5 separate regions of the Homo sapiens genome follow, and all the other regions are linked to region 3. Evidence: promoter capture Hi-C in human tissues and cell types (Jung and others, 2019). All regions are on one chromosome and are shown on one strand. Each heading gives the region's core, a stretch centred on a gene start or on the middle of the fragment in contact. The rest is flanking DNA. Distances are from core to core; before and after follow the strand shown.

The links. Contacts are between HindIII fragments. The study calls those that stand out against the background at their distance.
Region 1: a contact is called between a fragment that was not itself captured here and the fragment with the promoter of SNAI3 in region 3, in 1 of the 25 tissues and cell types used here (spleen).
Region 2: a contact is called between the fragment with the promoter of FANCA here and the fragment with the promoter of SNAI3 in region 3, in 3 of the 25 tissues and cell types used here (lymphoblastoid cells, pancreas and spleen).
Region 4: a fragment that was not itself captured here is called in contact with the fragment with the promoter of SNAI3 in region 3 in 1 of the 25 tissues and cell types used here (adrenal gland).
Region 5: a contact is called between a fragment that was not itself captured here and the fragment with the promoter of SNAI3 in region 3, in 1 of the 25 tissues and cell types used here (aorta).

Annotation. Positions count from the first base shown.
Region 1 is chr16:89,745,454-89,748,225 of GRCh38, reverse strand. It overlaps FANCA (FA complementation group A), which reads left to right. Exons shown (of 43, transcript NM_000135.4): 34 at 1,336-1,395; 35 at 1,538-1,642. Among named protein-coding and RNA genes, the nearest start is that of ZNF276, 25 kb to the right of the region's middle. RefSeq lists an enhancer at 1,356-1,525. The HindIII fragment of the contact is 8,916 bases long and covers 1-2,772 here.
Region 2 is chr16:89,815,217-89,817,950 of GRCh38, reverse strand. FANCA (FA complementation group A) reads left to right here and starts at 1,304. Exons shown (of 43, transcript NM_000135.4): 1 at 1,304-1,414; 2 at 1,965-2,074. The coding sequence starts at 1,336. RefSeq lists enhancers at 641-690, 1,076-1,370 and silencers at 1,231-1,520, 1,751-1,800. The HindIII fragment of the contact is 15,845 bases long and covers 1-2,734 here.
Region 3 is chr16:88,685,076-88,687,775 of GRCh38, reverse strand. It overlaps SNAI3 (snail family transcriptional repressor 3), which reads left to right and starts at 1,269. Exons shown (of 3, transcript NM_178310.4): 1 at 1,269-1,445. The coding sequence starts at 1,370. It overlaps SNAI3-AS1 (SNAI3 antisense RNA 1), which reads right to left. Exons shown (of 4, transcript NR_024399.1): 4 at 590-985. RefSeq lists silencers at 989-1,448, 1,499-1,658. The HindIII fragment of the contact is 11,241 bases long and covers 1-2,700 here.
Region 4 is chr16:89,882,036-89,884,791 of GRCh38, reverse strand. It overlaps TCF25 (TCF25 ribosome quality control complex subunit), which reads right to left. Exons shown (of 18, transcript NM_014972.3): 2 at 1,280-1,441; 3 at 136-210. Among named protein-coding and RNA genes, the nearest start is that of TCF25, 9.8 kb to the right of the region's middle. RefSeq lists a cis regulatory region at 2,215 and an enhancer at 2,131-2,300. The HindIII fragment of the contact is 6,115 bases long and covers 1-2,756 here.
Region 5 is chr16:87,469,139-87,471,838 of GRCh38, reverse strand. All of the region lies in intron 1 of ZCCHC14 (zinc finger CCHC-type containing 14), which reads left to right. Among named protein-coding and RNA genes, the nearest start is that of ZCCHC14, 23 kb to the left of the region's middle. RefSeq lists enhancers at 1-737, 1,423-2,007, 2,008-2,593. The HindIII fragment of the contact is 5,698 bases long and covers 1-2,700 here.

The sequences.
Region 1 (2,772 bases), core at 247-2,746, 1.1 Mb before region 3:
CAGGGTGATCTTAACCAGCAGGCTGGGTGCGGTGGCTCACGCCCGTAATCCCAGCACTCTGGAAAGGTGGGGGATCACTTGAGCCCAGGAGTTCGAGACCAGCCTGGGCAACATGACAAAACCCTGTTTCTACAAAAAATAGAAAAATTAGCTGGGTATGGTGGTGCACGCCTGTACTCCCACCTACTTGAGAGGCTGGGTCAGGAGGAGTAATTGAGCCCAGGAGGCAGAGTTGCACTGAGCCAAGATCCCACCACTACACTCCAGCCTGGGTGACAGAGCGAAACTCTTGTCTCAAATAAAAAGAAGTGACACTCGCTGTGGGGACGGGCAGCGTAGGGACCCAGTTGGTCAGAGCTGGGGAGACGGATACCAGCCCCTCCCACTCTACAGAGAGCAGCTTCTGCTCCCGAAGGCCTTTTTCTTGTTTTTGAAGATGCACAAATGTGAGAGATGGAATTCAGGTTCCATGCCAGCTGTGCAGCATTTTATATTTTTATTTATTTATTTATTTATTTATTTTTTGAGACAGAGTCTTGCTCTGTCGCCCAGGCTGGAGTGCAGCAGTGAAATCTTGGCTCACCCTGCAACCTCCGCCTCCCAGGTTCAAGCGATTCTCCTGCCTCAGCCTCCTGAGTAGCTGGGACTACAGGTGCCTGCCGCCATGACCGGCTAAGTTTTGTATTTTTAGTAGAGATGACGTTTTACCATGTTGGTCAGTCTGGTCTTGAACTCCTGACCTCGTGATCCACCCGCCTTGGCCTCCCAAAGTGCTGGGATTACAGGTGTGAGCCCGGCCTTGTGCAGCACTTCAAAATGTGACAAGGAAAGCAGAGGACGTGAGACTAGCAAAAGCTTTCAGAAAATCACTATGGTCTCCTTTGAATTCTTATGAATGGCTGTTTTTCAGAAAGCTCTCAGTTGGCACGTGACAGCCGACAGACAGGAAAACACCATAGACAGCACTTGGTTAGTGAAGGGACCAGAGGATGGTTGGCCCTTGGTATTAGTGTCGTCCTCACCACAGTTCTACGCTCCGGGTGCGTCCCCTTCCCTGCGGCTGCTTGTGCCTCCCTGGCTTCTTCCTGGAGCCTACAAGACTGTTTGGGCCAGAGCTGGTGGGCTGCAGGATCTGGCCGCCCAGGGAAGCCGTTAAGTTTCAGGACAGCACAGCCAGGGCGCCAGGCCCGGTCAGCCCAGGAGCACCATCCATGGTGGCCACGCCAAGCCTTAGCGAGTGTTTTTCTCAAAACTGAATCCACAGCAGCCACTCTGCATGTTGGTCTCGCCTCTCTTCCTGTGGGCTTTTCTTACCTGCCTTGAACTCTTTTGCAGAGAAACTTCTGCTCCCACGGAGGTGCCCTGACACAGGACATCACTGCCCACTTCTTCAGGGTGAGATGCTCCCTCAGCCCCTCTCGTGGCCTTCTCAGAACGCCGTGGGTGGATCCTCCTGTCAGCTTCCTGTGAGTTCCTTCACTCTACTAGTTGTGGGTCCTCACAAACCGCTGACCTCCTGCTGCGTTCTCTCCTGCAGGGCCTCCTGAACGCCTGTCTGCGGAGCAGAGACCCCTCCCTGATGGTCGACTTCATACTGGCCAAGTGCCAGACGAAATGCCCCTTAATTTTGACCTCTGCTCTGGTGGGTCAGCTGTCTTGTTTGGTGTTTTGTTTTGGGGATGAGTGGGAGACTCCACAGCTGCCTCTGGCATCTCTGCAGCACGTCTCCATCACGGGTGTTACCATCTCAGGGAAAATGCATCAGGAGACATGGAAGCCACAGTTAAAGATGCCAGCTCATAGCAGATGAGGGCCGCACATCCTGAGTTCCCAGAACCGTCCCTGCCCCCACCGCCGTCACCATGGCACCCGCAGGACTTCTCCCCTGTGGACCCCACTCAGACCCCACGGGCACCTTCATGTCCACAGGGGTGCAGGGCTTGTTTGTTCACGGTCTTGGGTTGTGCACTGGCTGGAGGCTGTACGGTGGCTGCCTGTGCCCCGTCACGAGAGCATGACTGTGGCCCACTTGCGCCTGACTATGCTTTCTTGGGACTTCGGAGCAGAGACTTCACCTCAGCTCCCGCCAGAGCTCAGCAGGCTCCCCTAGCAGCCCAGGGTCCCGAGAGTGGGAGGAGGGCAGCATTTCCCTCACTTCCCTGGCGGCTCACTTAGTCCTGAAGACCACAGCTGTCGCCCTTCCTTCTCGGTCATCAGGGACAGGAGGGCCTTTTTCTCCGCAGCACGGCATGTTCCCCAGGGAGCTCCCCAAGCAGGCTGCATTTGCACCGAGTTGTAGCTCAGTTGGTGGAATTCGTGAGAAATGAACTCTTCGGTGTTTAGAACGCCACCTCTCAGCTGAGGGCATCCAAGGACCAGGCATTCCCAGCTCAGGGCAGTGTGGTCTCTTCACTGTTTCGTTCCCAGCTCAGAGGAGTGTGGTCCCTTCACTGTTTCGTTCCCAGCTCAGGGCAGTGTGGTCCCTTCACTGTTTTGTTCCCAGCTCAGAGGAGTGTGGTCCCTTCACTGTTTTGTTCCCAGCTCAGGGCAGTGTGGTCCCTTCACTGTTTTGTTCCCAGCTCAGAGGAGTGTGGTCCCTTCACTGTTTCGTTCCCAGCTCAGGGCAGTGTGGTCCCTTCACTGTTTTGTTCCCAGCTCAGAGGAGTGTGGTCCCTTCACTGTTTCGTTCCCAGCTCAGGGCAGTGTGGTCCCTTCACTGTTTCGTTCCCAGCTCAGAGGAGTGTGGTCCCTTCACTGTTTTGTTCCCAGCTC
Region 2 (2,734 bases), core at 55-2,554, 1.1 Mb before region 3:
TGGAGTGCAGCGGCGCGATCTCAGGCTGTTCCCTGAGTTCACACCATCCCCCTCAACCAGCAGATTGCAAAGTGTCCGAGTCGGGCCGTGCAGGAGTCTTTGTGGGGGTTTCATGGACTCCGAATTCTCATTTCTGCTCCATCCCCATCTCATGAATCCAAGGCCCCACTCTGTGCCTCGGCTCTTCGTTTGTGGTGCTGAACGTCATCTACGTCATCTACGCCATCTACGTAATCAACACAATAAAGACGCCTGCCGGGAACGCGGCCCTTCGGCTGAATCCCTTCGGTGGTTCCAAGGCCACTGCCAGAGGATGCGGACGGGTCTCCAGGGCCTCTACTTACCCAGGACTTTGAGGCACATTAGCTTCGCCTAGGCACTCGCTTTTACGAATTCTTATGTTTGGTTTTGTTTTGAGACAGAGTCTCGCTCTGCCGCCCAGGCTGGTTAAAAGATAGGGTCTCAGCCGGGTGCGGTGGCTCACGCCTGTAATCCCAGCACTTTGGGAGGCCGAGGCGGGCGGATCACCTGAGGTCCGGAGTTCGAGACTAGCCTGGGCCAACATGGCGAAACGCTGTCTCTACTAAAAATAACAAAAATCATCCAGGCGTGGTGGCGCGCACCTGCAATCCCAGCTACTCGGGAGGCTGAGGCAGGAGAATCACCTGAACCCAGGAGGCAGACGTTGCAGTGAGCCGAGATCGCGCCACTGCACTCCAGCCTGGGCGACAGAGGGAGACTCCGTCTCAAAAAAAGGAAAAAAAAAAAAAAGAAAAGAAACAAAAGTGATGGGGTCTCGCTCTGTTGCCCAGGCTAGTCTGGAATTCCTGGGCTCAAGCGACCCTCCAGCCTCGGCCTCCCAAAGCGCTGGGAATACAGGCGCGGCTACCGCGCGGTCTCCGGCTGCCGAAACACCGCCCTGCGCGCGGACCGTTCGGCCGCCGGGAGGAACAGCGGCTGCCCGGAGCTCAGAGGCGCGCGCGGCTTTGCGCTCCCCGCGGCGCTCTGAGCCTGCCTCGGCTTGGTTGGCCAGGTGGTCTCTTCAGGACCAACCCCAGTCATTCCCGGCAGGAACCACGCTTGAGGGGCGGCAGTCTGCCCGCGCGAGACGCCCCCGCGGACTACACCGCGGCGGCAAAGCCAAACGCAAAAACTACCTCACCGCGCGCAGGCGCCTCCCCCAGGACCAACATGGCCACGACGCAAGGCCTCGACCTGAGGGGCGTGGCCTGGCCGCCGCCAGCCAACGGGTGTGCGCGCCTGGCCGCAGCCAATAGGAAGGCAGCGCGGGCTCGGGCGCAGGGAGCCGCCGCCGGGGCTGTAGGCGCCAAGGCCATGTCCGACTCGTGGGTCCCGAACTCCGCCTCGGGCCAGGACCCAGGGGGCCGCCGGAGGGCCTGGGCCGAGCTGCTGGGTAGGTGGGCGCGGCAGGCCGCGGGAGTGGGCGGCGTCCGGCCCGGGACGGTTTCGCCGGTTCCCCGATCCCTTCCCGCCAGAGCCTCCGCCGGTCGGATCCCCGGACGCCGCGCCCGGGGGGCTGTGCGGGGTGGGCGCCCGGCTGGGGCGGCGCGGCTGCCTCGGACCCGGCCCCTCCTGCGCCTGGGCGGACGCCCCCAGCCGCCGCCCGCGGGGCGCTCCCTTCTTTCCCGAACGCCGCCCCCGCCGGCCGCCCTGTCAGGCGGGCCTGGGGTGCGCGGCCTGGGGCTCCCCTCAGCGCAGAGGCCGCCCCTCGCCAGCCGTCCCCGGGCTCCCCTGCCTCGGGCCCTCCTGGGCCGTCTTCCCCGGCGTCCGCGGTGGGGCCGTCTCCGTTAGTTTCCCGAGACCTGCGCCCTGGGGAGGAGCCCCGGCCCCTCTTCGGGAGGGTGTCGCTGGTGGGTTTCTCCGCGGCGTCCACCTGCGCGTCGGGCCGGGGACCCCGTGTGTGAATTGTGCTGTGATGGTTTCGAACCGACTTCTCTCCGTAGCGGGAAGGGTCAAGAGGGAAAAATATAATCCTGAAAGGGCACAGAAATTAAAGGAATCAGCTGTGCGCCTCCTGCGAAGCCATCAGGACCTGAATGCCCTTTTGCTTGAGGTAAGAGGAAGCTGGTGTCCGTCTGCGGGCAGATTTAGGTTCGGGGTTTTTGAGTCCAGCCACCGCACAGCTTTCCTAAGAAAACACCCGAGGCGGCGGGCGCGGTGGCCTGGCCCGCAGAGGGGAGGGTCGCCTGAGCCCGGGAGTTCTGGACCAACCTGGGCAACGGGGTGAGACCCCGCCTCTTTTATTAAAAACAAAACAACAACAACAAAAAAACAGGCCGGGCGCCGTGGCTCAGGGCTGTAATCCCAGCTTTTGGGGAGGCCAAGGCGGGTGGATCACTCAGGGTCAGGAGTTCGAGACCAGCCTGGCCAACATAGTGAAACCCGGTCTCTACTGAAAATACAAAAATTAGCTGGGTGTGGTGGCGCACGCCTTTAATCCCAGCTACTCGGGAGCCTGAGGCAGGAGAATTGCTTGAACCTGGACCCGGGAGGCAGAAATTGCAGTGAGCCGAGATCACGCCCCTTGCAATCCAGTCTGGATTACAGAGTGAGACTGTCTCACAAAAAAAAAAAAAAAAAAAAAAAAAAAAAAAGCCGGGCGTGGTGGCTCACGCCTGTAATCCTAGCCCTTTGGGAGGCCGAAGTGGGTAGATCACTTGAGGTTAGGAGTTCGAGACCAGCCTGACCAACATGGTGAAACCCCGTCACTACT
Region 3 (2,700 bases), core at 20-2,519:
ACGCCTGGCTAATTAAAATAATTTTTTTTTTTTTTTTTGTAGAGACGGGGTCTCATGTTGTTTTTCAGGCTGGTCTCAAACTCCTGGGCTCAAGCAGTCCTCTTGTCTCAGCCTCCCACAGTGCTGGGATTACAGGCGTGAGCTGCTGAGCCCAGACTCACAGCCTAGTTTTTTTTCATTGGCAAAGTGGGGCTGATACTAGCCCAGCTTTTCACACCCTGGACGTGTGATGTGGGACGTGGGATGCTGGTGTGGCACGGCCCTCCTCCCTGCTGTCTGTCCCTCAGAGCTTCCATGGACTCACCACCCCCCACCTTCTCCACCCCCGGCCCACAGGGGGCAAAGGCCACCCAGCTCTGAGGTGGAAGCCCTGCTGGGGAGGCAGGCCGGCGGCACAGCCAGGGACACCCTGTGTGCACGCCAGCCCAGAGACGGCCCCACCTGGCCCCCAACGTTATGAAATGTCCATGTCAAAAGAGACCCAGACACTGGACACAGCGGCTCCCAGCTTTTTATGACCCTGAGGGCTCTACAGGACCACAAAGGAGGGAAACGGATTGCCCAGGTCACACGTGCAGCTGTTGCAGAATTCACGTGATTCACCGGTTTTATTAAACTTCCCATAACCATGTCTGACCCCCTGGGAATTCCAGAATTCCAGGCCAAGTCCTCCGTCCCCCAAAAAACAGCTTTCTGGAGGCACTGGACAAACTCCTAAAGGGCTGACTCCAGTGGGGGAAGCCTTCGGAGACTGCAGCCCATCCAGAAAGGACCACTGTCTCCAGGCCACCGGTCCCGGGCCTGTTCCAGAGCCGCCAGTAGGGCTGGTCACTAGGGTCAGCTTCGTTTCGCCTGGGCTCTCCCCATCAATCCTGTCCTGTGAGTTTGCAGAAGGGATGGGGAGGCGAGGCCAGGCCGCAGAGTGAGCGTCATTCTCCGCAGCAAGGGTTCTCCAAGGACCGCGCTCGGCCGACGCTTCCACATTCTGTGGAAGAGATTCTCGCTCGGTTTCCACACAGCTTTGAACTCTGCCCTTCACTCACGGCGAGTGGGTGGCCAGGCCCGACGGGTCGGTGTGTGACTCGGCGGCGCGCACGCCAGAGAATTCCCGTGGGGAGGACACCGGCGGCCACGCGCTCCCCGCCCCGTCCCGCCCGCGCACCTGTCCTGGGCGTGTTGCCCGAGACCCCGCCTCGCCCTCAGTTCCGCCCCCGTGGCCCCGCCCCACTCGCGCCGGGCGCTGGTTGGCGGAGGCGGCGCGCTATGCTAATGAGCCTGACCCCTTCAAGCGCCGGCGGACGCAGCAGTCCGGACCCAGGCGCGCCCCTCCCGCCCCAGCCCACCCCGGCCTGCCGCCCGGGAGGGGAACATGCCGCGCTCCTTCCTGGTGAAAACGCACTCCAGCCACAGGGTCCCCAACTACCGGCGGCTGGAGACGCAGAGAGGTACTGACTACCCGATCCCCGAGCCCCTGCCGGGACTCGACCCTGAGGGGCGGGAGAGAGAGAGAGGCCCCTGGGAGCGGGGGCTGGGGAGACACCTGTCCCAGGTGGGAGGAGAAGGAGCCAGCGCCTCTGCGCAGCGGCTGCGGCTGCAGGGAGGGAGGTGGCCCACGGGCGCCTCCACTTCAGGGCACTGAGCCCCGCCTCCGGCAGGGCGGGCGGGATTCTCTCCCAACTTGGAGAAGTTTTCTAAGTTTTCTAAGCCCCCAAGTCTCCCTGGAACTCACCCCTGATATACAGCCGCCCGTCCCAACCACTACAGCCCCAGCTAAAGGCACCCTGGAGTCATCTTCCTGGCGCACACGTTTGGGAGGGGTCGCGGGGTGGTGGGTGGGAGGGAAGGAGGGCCGTCTGGGGCGGCCCGGCTCAGGGACCCCCGGAGCATGCTGACTGGGGGTGTAAGCACAGGGGATGGTGAGAAGGACACATGGGCTCTTTCTGGTGCAAAGGCACTGCCCCTCCTGCATTCAGTTCAGGTGAGCCTCCGCCCGTGGTCTCCCTCCCTCCCCCACCTCCCTTCACCCCAGAAGCCCTCCTGCTCACCCCGGCAGGCTTGCCTGGGCAGGCTGGGCTAAAGGGCTGCAATCCTCCACACACCGGCTAGGCTGGGGAGATGGGTGCCCAGCAACCGGGCTGCCCGTTCATTCCCACTGCCTGCTAGGCTTAGGGACACGAGAGAAGAGGACTCTGTCCTTCAGAGGACAGCCTGCCACACGGGCGGTGAGAGCAGTCCCCACCTGGCTTGGCAGCTTCTTGGGACAAAGGCCCACTGAGGGGCGCCGGCGGACGCGGTGGTCGGGACTCACGCTCTGTGGCCGGTGGGGGAGAGCAGGAAGGGCGCTGTTGGGGCTGTGGCCCCCAGCAACACCGCCAAGAGGCCTTTATCCCAGCTCAGAACCCAGAGTTGGGGATGGGGGGGATCCCACCTGGACCCACACCCGAGGCCCGGGCTGCCACCAGGGGGTGCCAGCTAGGACCATGCTTTTCAAATGTGCATTTTGAAATCAGTTTCATCAGTCACCCCCAGCAATTTTGTAAAATAAAATAGAGCAGAAACTGCCGGAGTGCCTGGCTCATGGTGAAGGACACTGGCTTCTGTTATGTGTATGTGGATGCGCATGTGACTACACATGTGTGCGGAATTTACATGGGTAATAGTTGCAAGTTTCAAAGTGTTGCTTAGGGTCCATCCCAGTGT
Region 4 (2,756 bases), core at 220-2,719, 1.2 Mb before region 3:
AGGGAGAGGGCGTCAGGCAGAGGGAGAGGGCGTCAGACAGAGGGAGAGGGCGTCAGGCAGAGGGAGAGGGCGTCAGGCAGAGGGAGAGGGGCGTCAGGCAGAGGGACAGAGCACAGCCAGGCCCAACTCACGTACCGATGCTTCTCCCGTGCTGCTTTTCTTGTTTTTCTGTTTTTTTTTCTTCTTCCGGAGTTTGCCACTTGCATGAGACTAATGATAGAAACACATTTTCATCAGTAGAATGAGAAGTAAATCTTAAGAAGTGAGAATTAAAGCAGCAAGCGTGACTCCACCCTCACCTAAGCAGCCCCTACCTCTCCCTCCGTGTCCCAAAAGTTCCTTCAACTCACTCTCTTCTCTCCAGCAGGCACCTTCCCACCTCTCCGAGCCCCTCGGGCTGTGCTACAGCAGTCCCCAGGGCCTTCTGTGTCCAGCCTCACAGGCTCACAGGACCCTGACCAGGTCCAGCTCTCATTCCTCCCTGTGTCGGCCACTCCCTGCCACACTGCAGCCACCCTGAAGACGGGGGCCTTGCTGTGCCCTGGCCGCCTCACACCGCACCTGTATGTGTGGTCCCCTACGCCTGCACCTGGCCAACCCCTTCTGACAGTAGGAAGGCTCCTCAGGAAGCCCCCAGGACCCTGAGCCTCAAGTCAGGACCCACCTGTCACTTCACATGTATGTTGCCCTCCCAACCAGAGGCTCCTGGGGGGCAAAGGCACGTTCCCAGCACCCAGCAAGCTCCCAAGAACACTTGTTGGATAAATGAACACAAGCTCTCCTTTTAGGGCCCCTCTTCTGTGCTGTGGAGCACAGCAGCAGGCTGTCTGCATCTCTGCCCATCCCACGTTAACCTGACCTGCATGTTTCTTCAAAGTTCACTTACACCAGCACCCAGATCCACAACCCAGCCAAGCAAACGTTCGGGGCACAGTTAGGAAGGACACACGTGCGCGGTCGGCTAGGAGGCACACACGTGCGCGGTCGGCTAGGAGGGACACACGTGCGCGGTTGGCTAGGAGGGACACACGTGTGCGGTTACATACACTGCTGGGCAGGCGCAGACTCTCCTGAGATGCAGGAGAAAGGCCTGCGACCTTCACTCATTTCATGCAAATCTCATCAAGGTTCCCAAGTAAATTTGGGGGCAACTAGCAGGTAACCAAAATGGAACTCGGAAAATTACACCTCCAAGGAAAATCACAGCACAGGATACACGTGGCTGGGTGCCTTGGAACTCTCCCGTCTGATGCCACCTCCTCACCACTCAGCCCCCCACCTGCTCTGAGGGCACTGTCTCGGTGTCATCTCCATCCGTCTTGCTCTCTGTGTTTCCACGCTGACCCCTTCCTTTGTTCCCTGGTGCCACAGCGTCTGTGAGCGCACAGCCAGACCTCTCCCCGTTCACCACAGGGTCATCCTCAAGATCGTCAATGTTTATCTGGAAAAACAGGTTGGAGAAGAGCCAGGGCGTTACTTACAGTGTGAACGCTCATGCTGAGATATGAATAGTGAGATGTGAACGGGCTTGCGTTGGGGACCCCCAGGGTCAGTGCGAGACGCTGGACGGGAAAGATGCAAGAACCCGAGACTGTTGGACACAGCAGTGACTCAGCTCTGGCTCAGGGGGACTTTGTCAGCAGCTCTACAGAAAGCCGGGGCCCCGAGGCTATGGGGTATCTCTGCCTTCAGAGATGAGGTAAGGAAGACTCCTCAAATATTGTAATTTACTCCATTTACAGAGGACCATCTGCAGGACAAAACGTTAAATATATATATTCAGCCAATGCATTAAAGTTCCTTCTTCCTCCTTTCTCCTCAAGCCTCAGCTCCTCTCCAGCAGCAGGCAGGAAAAAAAGGCACCAAGGACCCATCAACCTACAAACTTTTCCTAATGAAAATGATAGGCCAGGCGAGGTGCTCGCGCCTGTGATCCCAGCACTTTGGGAGGTTGATGCAGGCGGATCACTTGAGGTCAGGAGTTCAAGACCAGCCTGGCCAACATGGCGAAACCCTGTCTCTACTAAAAACACAAAAATTAGCCAGGCACAGTGGCAGGAGCCTGTAATCCCAGCTACTTGGGAGGCTGAAGTGGTATAATCGTTTGAACCCGGGAGGCAGAGGTTGCTGTGAGTCAAGATCGCACCACTACCCTCCAGCCTGGGCAACAGAGCAAGACTCCATCTCAAAATAGAAAAACAAAATGACATACGATAAAAATAATTCATACGATGAAACCTTCTCTCTCTCTTTTTGAGACAGAGTCTCGCTCTGTCATCCAGGCTGCAGTGCAGCAGTGTGATCTTGGCTCACTGCAGCCTTGGCCTCCTGGGTTCAAGCATCCTCCTGCCTCAGCCTCCCAAGTAGCTGGAACTACAGGCGTGAGCTACCATGCCTGGCTAATTTTTTAAATTTTTTTGTAGAGATGGGGGTCTCAACACATTGCCCAGGCTGGTCTTGAGCTCCTGACCTCAAGCGATCCTCCTGCCTCAGCCTCCCAAAGAGCTGGAGTTACAGGCGTGAGCCACCACGCCAAGTCTGGAACCTTTTTATAGCAGTGAGAATGAATGAATGAATGAACCACCACTGAACACACAATATGGATGAATCTTAGGAGTATAATATTAAATGGATAAAACCTCACAACATACATTCACATACAGATTGGAGGGGAGACAGGCAGTGGGAGAAGGGTAAGAACAGGAAAAGTTCTGGCTCCTCAGCTAGTGAGAGGCTGACCGGGCACGGTGGCGGTG
Region 5 (2,700 bases), core at 57-2,556, 1.2 Mb after region 3:
CTGAAGTCAATACATCCGTTAAGATGCCCTTTGAACCCTGTTTTATGGGATTACAGGACTAGGAAGTATGTCTTTAGCCTCCCTAGGGCTCTCGACTTTAGACTCCCTCTGTTTCTACAGGCAGTGTCTGGAACAGGGATTCTGGGTGTGTTGGAGGCTGACTGTAGGGAAGCCCTACCCCAGAGGTCCCATGTGGTTGGCCCCTGGTGGGATGTCTTGGCACCTGGAGGCCTGGAAGCCCCCGCGGGTGGGCAGTTGGGGCCGGTGTTCCTAGAGGAGGCCGTGCTGCCCTGTGGCTATTTGTGAAAGAGATTTGCATCTGGTCACTCTGGGAGCTGGTCTAGTTAAGTACTGGGTTCCCTTTGCTGAGATTTTAAGCAGTAATCTTTTTTCTCTCTTTCTCTTTTTGATGAGTAGAGCTCTAGGTTAAGAAATATTAAAAGGAATGTTTTTACATGGAAAATGTTTTTTTGGTTAGCGTTGGCTTTCACTTGGTCTAAGTCAGCAAATAGCTTTCACTCTTAAACTGTCTGTCTTCTTGTTCTGGTTTTTAGAGACACGTAATGACTATTTTAGCAAAATGCTTACAAATCTATTTTGTTTTTATGTTTTATGTTTTTTACGTTAACTTAAAAGTATTTAACAGACGTTACTCCTTCCTGTATAGAGGTAGGTTAATTGGAAAACAAATTGAAAACACTATTTTTTCATAGTCATGTTTACTGTATTTTGTTTGTGGGGGTAGACACTTTGAAGTTCATGTTAACCCCTGATGTGCCCGGCCCTCGAGATATGTGTGGAAGGAAAGTGTGGTTATGGTTTTAGAAGCTTGCTTTTTCTATACTTTTCATATCATTCACATCTTGTAGGGAGGTATTTATATTTAGACTTAATATCTGTAACTTTTTTAAATTCTAGAAGTAGTGATTGTTCCTCACAGAAAAATTGGAAAACAGAAAAATAAAATAAAAATTACCCAGAGATAAATGCTAGTAATATTTCGGTGTACCTTTGTCTTTTCTCAGTGCCTGTTTGCACACAACTGATGTACGTTCTGCCCATTTTCACATTATCTGTGAGCATCCTGCATGCCTTTTAAGACTGCATAATATTCAGTCATCTGGACATACACATTTAGCGACCTATTTCAATAGTAATCTGTTGCTGGGATGTTTATGTTGTTTGTTTTTCTTTTTGCTCAAGCTGAGATAAATCTCCTTACACACAAACCTTTGACTACATCGCTGATTGACTGTATCCTAACAGCAGACTCCTCCCAGTGGGATTAGTGGGTGAAAAGCTACAGATGGGAAAAAAGCTCATCACATCCTGCCTCCTTGCTGTCCAGACAGTGGCCCCAGGTTACACTCAGCTGAGGACGAGGCCACCCCCTGCAGCTTTATGAGCATTTGACTCCTGAGAACATTTTAACTGTAGTCCAAGTAATTAAATAATTATTCAAGCTGTCATGTGCTTGTTTTCATTATTTATTTATTTATTTATTTATTTGAGTTGGGGTGTCGTGCTGTCTCCCAGGTTGGAGTGCGGTGATGCAATCATAGCTCATTGCAGCCTCAACTTCCCAGGTTCAAGCGATCCCCCCACCTCAGCCTCCTGAGCAGCTAGGTACAGGCACACACCACCACACTCGGGTAATTTCTAAATTGTGGTAGAGATGTAGTCTCACTATGTTGCCCAGGCTGGTCTTGAACTCCTGACCTCAGGAGTTCCACCTGTCTAAGCCTCCCAAAGTGCTGGGATTACAGGTGTGAACCACTGCTCCTGGCCCCAGGCTGGTTTTGAACTACTGGGCTCAAGCGATCCTCCTGCCTCAGCCCCCCAAAGTGCTGGGATTGCAGGCGTGAGCCACTGTGCCTGGCAAGTGCACTGGTTTTAGAACAGACGATCACATGTCGTGGTAAAGTCTCTACTTGAGAAGATAGGCCCTGGCCCCCAGTGCAGGGAACACGGAGCTGGGGTGGCTGTGGGTGGCTCTGTCCTCATCCCCAGTGCTTCTGGGGGTGTGCTGCCCACAGGGGTGCAGCAGATGCTGTAGACACAGGGAGCCCTGCCTTCCGGGAGGCCCAGTTGCCGGTGCCCCTCCTGGATCCTCCCAGAGCTCCGAGTCTCTGTGACAGCACTGAAGCAATTTAATTGTCCTCCAGCCACACCGCAAGCACCACAATAATAACAGCAACTAACATTTTGAATGCTAACATTTTTCCAGTTCACAGTACTAGAAATGCATTTTACTGAATTCTCACAAAAGCCTTAGGTAGGTGCCATTATTTCCATCCCATAGTGGACGAAACAGGGGCTGCCCTGTGTGGACCCAGCACTGGCCGCCGAGACGGCTCCTGACCGCTGTGCTCCGCTCGCCTCCTTGGATTTAATGTGCACAAATCACAGACCTCTGTAGTTACAGGACCTAAAGTCTGCACTTGATTCTGCTCCCTACTGGCCAGATGACCTTGGGGAAGGCATTTAGGAACTGACATTCAGTTTTTCTTGTTTTTAACATGGAGATAATTTGATCTGTGTACGTCACGTACTGCAGGGATCAGATGGATGATCTCATATGGCTGCATAATGGATACTTGGGAAGAACTGTACAAAAGGTGGTTATAGCCGGGTGCATTGTCTCATGCCTGTGGTCCCAGCTACTCGGGAGGCTGAGGCAGGAGGATGACTTGAGCCTGG